Regions from separate parts of the Homo sapiens genome. Here region 2 is linked to region 1. The links are contacts of gene promoters, found by promoter capture Hi-C in human tissues and cell types (Jung and others, 2019). All regions are on one chromosome and are shown on one strand. Each heading gives the region's core, a stretch centred on a gene start or on the middle of the fragment in contact. The rest is flanking DNA. Distances are from core to core; before and after follow the strand shown. Region 1 holds the start of EDAR (ectodysplasin A receptor). Region 2 overlaps LIMS1 (LIM zinc finger domain containing 1).

Region 1 (3,363 bases), core at 567-3,066:
GGCTGCCGCCCAATGGCAGGCACTGGGCTAGGCAAGAGGGTACCATGATGCCTGAGAAACAAAGATGAGCCCCTGACATGTCTGTGCTTCACAAATGTGTATGCCCAACAAAATGAAAGTCCAGCTCACAAAAGCAAGAAACCAGGTAGTGGCCAGGGAGTGAAAATCAAGCATTTCAGGGAAAGTGTATTTACTTTTTCCTCCCAAAGACTGGTCCTTCCAAGATTATCCTCCAACTGTGCTGTCACAAATTAATCCTCCCACAGCACAGCCTGGCCCACTTAGGGATGGGGAGGGGTACAGTGGAGACCCCCGGCCAATCGCCACCAGGATCGCCAAACTTTCCCAGCCGTGAAGGGTACACGTGGACTGTCATCGGAACGAACGCTTATTTCCAAGCCTTGACCAGAGTCACTCTCTTTTTGGTGGCCTCTGTCAAAATGTATCTTTAAAGGTTTTAAGTGGCTATGACTTACAAATCTCAGAGTATTAAGCCAGGCAAGAAACATTCTCTATTTTAGATGCCTGGATCCCTTTTTTCCTTCAGTCTATTATGGCTCTTCACTTCTTTGTTACACTTTCACTCTTGCTTAGAAAGTGTCTCAAAAATGCCACTTGAGAGCCACAGAGCAGTGGCCTGGGGACTGGGGAAGAGGACGGTGGTGCTCCTGTCTCTCCGTACGTCTCCTCACATGCGTGTACCCCTGGCTGTGTGGGATTGCCCACTGACCGGCATCTGCCCTGCTTGTTGATTTTAACTGTCCCTCTTGTTGCTGACCCAGCACAACATGGGCAGGGAAACCCAGTGGGAACCTCGCCTGCTGACCTCCCTGCCCAGCCACCCGCTTCTCCCTGAGCTGACATCTCAAAGCTTGGCTGCTGCAGGAGGCTGGGAATCAGAGCCGACTGAATCAGAGCCGACTCCTGTCTAGGAGCCCAACCCACCCCACGGTCTGTCAGAGTGTTGAGAGGAACCTCTTGGCTGGAAATGAAAACCTCAATCATCACAAATAGGTACCCACTCCCCTCCTTCTCTCCCTCTCCCCGCTCCCCCGCCACCAACACAGAGGCCAGGATATGGGGGGTCTCAGACACGACTGGAAACCCCACTTGGAAGGTCTCTTAGGTCACAGCGGGTACGCAGAGTTGGAGGCAGGTACAGAGCCCAGCTAGAGTCCCTGCCGCGCCTGCCTTCCCCAGTGAGCCGGGCACAGGGGCAAACCTGAGAAACATACTTTTCACGCTCCCTGGAGGAACCCGTTGCTTCAGTAGCCCAAATCTTAAAGCCTGTGAAGCACACACAGAATTTGTCTCCCTAACCAAATGTGCAACCAACAGCAAAACAGGGTTTCTGATGTTTTTCTAAAACAAAGGAACAATCTCAGGTCTTAGAACTGGTAGCGCAGACATACTGCAATCGGTAAAGCTTGTTCAAACGCAACCCAAAAATGACATGCATTTCAAAAATGCACCCAGCCTCTCTCCCAGCCCATGACACCTCCGTCTCGGCCACAGCTGAAGAGTTTAGAAAACCAGAGGAAAGGACCAGGGCTTACCTGGCTTCTGTTGGAGGTCAGCTTCAGTCCCAGCAGAAGATGGGTCTATGAAGAAAGTCAGGTACCATCCAGTTCTGGGTGACAGGCTTCACAGGTGGCCACCGTGGCAGCCCTCTCAGAAGCAGGTACTCTATGTCCTTAGGGGCCAGCAGGGCTGCCTGGGACCTGGCACACCTCTCTGACACTAGCCCCGCTTCCTTTCCGTTTAAAGGGCTTCCCGGGAACTCTTCCTTGACCGCTCCCTGCCCTGTCTGCAAGTTTGGAAACTCAGTCCTTGCCGAGGGGCTTTCCCTCATTGCAAACTCACCTGCACCATCTAGAGGTCTCTCCCAGCACTGGAGAGGCTGGAGCGGGCACGTTCAGCCCTGCTGCCATAGGTCCCTGGCACACCTGGCTCTCCGGCCGTCTGCCCCTTAAGAGATCTGTTGGAATGCGTAAAAATCATGGATTTTTTTTTTTGCAGGGGTGGGGGCCTTGCTTCTATCAGAGCCTTTAGGCGTGGGAGTGCTAAAAAGCTAAACTAGCATTAAAATATCATTAATCAAAGCTTGTTCGTAGAAGGACCCCCCACTGAGATGGCTACAGGCATGGGTGCCACTGCACGGATTCAGCTTCCAACATGTCTGTTCACATTCTCACCCATCCCCCGCACATCCCTCAGGGTTTGAGCCACCAGGACTGCTCTTCCTTTCCTCTCTCTGGACACCTCACACCACCAGTGTATACCCATGTAACTTCAGATAACCATACACACCCCCCGTATAACTAGGTAATTAGGAAGCCATTTGAAACATCAACATTTTGAAAGGACATACCTTTCAGTATTGGGCAATTATTTCTCAAAAAGTAAATGATTGGGGGGGGGAAAACAGCCTTAAAATAATGTCATTCTCTTGTCATTTTCTCCCTCATTCACACCTACACAGATAAATACAGGAACAGAGCAGCTCCTCCAGGCTAGATTTCTGTGTTCTCCTTTTCCATCTTGTCCCCTCTGCCTTGGAAACCTACAAGGTAACTCACACATGAGAAAGTAAGAGCTTAAGAAAGAAACAGTCTGGGCTCCGTGGCTCACACCTGTAACCCCAGCACTTTGGAGGCTGAGGCGGGCAGATCACTTGAGGTCAGGAGTTTGGGATCAGCCTGGCCAACATGGTGAAACTCCGTCCCTACTAAAAATACAAAAATTAGGCCGGGCGCGGTGGCTCACGCCTGTAATCCCAGCACTTTGGGAGGCCGAGGCGGGTGGATCATGAGGTCAGGAGATCGAGACCATCCTGGCTAACAAGGTGAAACCCCGTCTCTACTAAAAATACAAAAAATTAGCCGGGCGTGGTGGCGGGCGCCTGTAGTCCCAGCTACTCGGGAGGCTGAGGCAGGAGAATGGCGTGAACCCGGGAAGCGGAGCTTGCAGTGAGCCGAGATTGCGCCACTGCAGTCCGCAGTCCGGCCTGGGTGACAGAGCGAGACTCCGTCTCAAAAAAAAAAAAAAAAAAAAATATACAAAAATTAGCCGGTGGTGGCATGTGTGGAGGCTAAAGCAGGAGAATTGTTCGAACCCAGGAGATGGAAGTTGCAGTGAGCCGAGATTGTGCCACTGCACTCCAGCCTGGGCAACAGAGCGAGAATCTGTCTCAAAACAGAAAAGAAAAGAAAAGAAAAAAGCAGACAGAAATGTATGGGGCTGGGGCAAGGACCTAGACTGTAAAGGACTAATTCTGCCTCCACAGAGATTAAGCTGAACCAGAGTTACTTAGCTGACTTGATCCTTGTGGATGATTAATCTAGATAATATAAGCTCCCAAAC
Region 2 (3,047 bases), core at 309-2,808, 300 kb before region 1:
GTATATTTATCAAACTAGTAGCTAGAAAGTGAATATGCACATTACTAAGACAAAAAACAAGTGTAATTCAGAACTACTTGATTTTTTTTAGTTAAATGCAATAATTATTATGCTTAGTTTTATAACCTGCTCTCCTTGTGAATTCTTCCTTCAAATGATTACTTAACGCAGTAGTAATAGCTAGCTGTAGGATGTCCTTTAAATTTTTGTGCAAAAAAAAATTTATACCAGGTATTTGGAAATATACTTTACAATATTGGAAAATGAAGTATTTTTAATGTATTACAGCAATTATGTTTCTAAGCTTAATGTTAAGCATGTAGTCTTAGAATAGGACATGAAATTAAATTGTATGTAGCTTGGAATATATTGCTTCAGAAAACTGAATGTGTATGTCGGTCATATTGCCTTTATAACCATGCTAATATCTATGCTTTATACATACTCAAACTTGCCTTGCCTTAAAAACATACATACTACATACTTAAATCAGGAATTCTAGCCATCTCACAGAATACCAACTAAAACTAAGTGCATTGAGATCTGAGATTGGTAAACCCAGATTCATTTACCACAGCTGTAATTAAGTTTTTAGAAACTATTCTCTTTTTGGGGAAATCCATTGAAGTTAATTTCTGTTATCTTATTAGAAGAAAATGATGTTGATATGTGTTTCAGATTTTCCATTTGAAATCTTATAATTAATTTGATTTATTTACTGTAAGTAGGAGGTATAAATGACACTCTTAAATTGGAAGGAGGGGTGTTTTAGTGTCTGTTTTAGGTCAAAATTAGTGATTCTATTTTTATCAAAAGTTTTATCCTGAAGTTTCAGGACCACTCTTCCTTAATAAACTTGTTAATGGAAAGCGAGCTTTATGAACATTTAAAAATGTTGCTGCTGCTTTGTTGCTTAAAAAGAAAGTTGCCAAGAGAGACTTCTTAGGGAAAATATTTGGGTTTTTTTTCCAAAAATTGCTGAAATATTGTTTTGCCATTTTTAAAAAGTCTCAGGTTATTACCACTCTGCCATTAAATATTTGTATGCCTGCATTTTTAAAAATTCTGTGCATGTACTTTATGGAGTACATTCTATTTTTGTTTTCAGATACCCTACAACCAATTTTTTTTAGTAATCTTTTAGAATTGAAATTATCATAAATGATCGAGAATAATCATCACATAGTTTAAGATTGTATATGTTGAGTAGTTTAAAACAATCTTTGCATTTTACAGTAAGAATCAAAGTCCCTTCAGTGTGCCTTTGTCAGCTAATATGTGACCAGCAATGACAACCTTGGGAGTATTTATTAAATATTATGCTATGAATATAGGCAACACAGAACAGGGTTTGCAGTATAGCGTCTTGATGCTAAATTCTCATATACCTCTACACGAGAAATATGGAGGAGAAAAACAAGCATTTACATATATTCTTCGTCACTTTGAAGATGCATGGCCTGAACTCGACTGCTTGTGTTTGTTTACATATCAGGCATACCCAGGCATCTCCTGCAGCCAGAGGTTCCATTGCTGTCTTTGCTCAGTCCTCTTTTAAAATATGAATTAGTGGACAGGCACGGTGCCTCACACCTGTAATCCCAGCACTTTGGGAGGTCGAGGCAGGTGGATCACGAGGTCAGGAGATCAAGACCATCCTGGCTACCACTGAAACCCCATCTCTACTACAAAAAAATTAGCCGGGCGTGGTGGCGGGCACCTGCAGTCCCAGCTACTCGGGAGGCTGAGGCAGGAGAATGGTGGGAACCCGGGAGGCAGAGCTTGCAGTGAGCCAAGATCACGCCACTGCACTCCAGCCTGGGCAACAGAGCAAGACTCTGTCTCAAAAAAAATAAATAAATAAATTATGAATGAGTATTTTCTAGAAATTCAACTTGCTAAGCCTGTAATACTTAAGGGTAGTTTATCTAGATACAGTACTTTCTTCCCTGATAAGTAGTATCATTGGAGCCCTTAGGTATAGGAGAAGAGGAAGAAGTTTAAAAAGTGTAAGTGGGCCGGGCGTGGTGGCTCATGCCTGTAATCCCAGCACTTTGGGAGGCCGAGGGGGGCGGATCACGAGGTCAGGAGATCCAGACTATCCTGGCTAACAAGGTGAAACCCCGTCTCTACTAAAAATACAAAAAAAAACATTAGCCAGGCGTGGTGGCGGGCGCTTGTAGTCCCAGCTACTCGGGAGGCTGAGGTAGGAGAATGGCTTGAACCCAGGAGGCGGAGCTTGCAGTGAGCCGAGATTGCACCACTGCACTCCAGCCTGGGCGACAGAGCAAGACTCCGTCTCAAAAAAAAAAAAAAAGTGTAAGTGGATTAAAAGAGAAACTTGGTCTAGTTCATAATATTTTTAATAGGGCTTTCCCTGGCTGCTGGAAAACTTAGGCCAGTAAGCATCTCTTTGTTTAAAGTCCTACAAGACAATTTGAAATAATTCATTGTTCATGCCAAAATTCTAAGTACTGTTTTTCTTAGCAAGTGTAACATAATCAGGAACAATGGGTACAAGTAAAACATTCTTTGGATGATATTCAAAGCCTTATTAGCACTGCACCTGAATAATAGGTCATTTTGCCTCACTCATTTGCCAAAGTAGCCATTTCTAAGTTAAGGAAGTTTTTAGATAGGCTCATAGCCTTGTATTTCGTTTTAGATTGTAAGCTCAATGGCAGGGATACTATATTGGTAATTATGTTTTCATATAGCAACCACCACAGTATATTCTTGGTGCTTAATAAATGTTTATAATTGTTAACAATAACCTGTTGTATATTGTTTATTTTGAATGGTATATATGTGAAATACATATGAAAATTGAAGTATTCATGAATATATAATAGAAACAAGTAAATGAATAAAATGACCTGGTTACTATAGATAAGCCAAATTTTGAACCATCTAGAACAATGGTGTAGTCTTCCCTCTACTCAATGTAAATGCTGGGTTTTTTAATTATTATTATTATTAAGAAGGAGATACAGTCCAGGCACAGTGGCTCACACCTGTAATCCCAGCACTTTGGGAGGCCGAGGCCA

Evidence for each region. The method cuts DNA at HindIII sites, captures the fragments that hold promoters and counts their contacts. A contact is called where the count stands out against the background at its distance.
Region 2: a fragment that was not itself captured here is called in contact with the fragment with the promoter of EDAR in region 1 in 1 of the 25 tissues and cell types used here (mesenchymal stem cells).

The regions. Positions count from the first base shown.
Region 1 is chr2:108,987,404-108,990,766 of GRCh38, forward strand. EDAR (ectodysplasin A receptor) reads right to left here and starts at 1,817. Exons shown (of 12, transcript NM_022336.4): 1 at 1,557-1,817. It also overlaps a transcript of RANBP2 not described here. RefSeq lists an enhancer at 290-791. The HindIII fragment of the contact is 2,359 bases long and covers 1,149-3,363 here.
Region 2 is chr2:108,684,474-108,687,520 of GRCh38, forward strand. LIMS1 (LIM zinc finger domain containing 1) reads left to right here. Exons shown (of 10, transcript NM_001193483.3): 10 at 1-2,773. Among named protein-coding and RNA genes, the nearest start is that of LIMS1-AS1, 7.4 kb to the left of the region's middle. The HindIII fragment of the contact is 4,750 bases long and covers 1-3,047 here.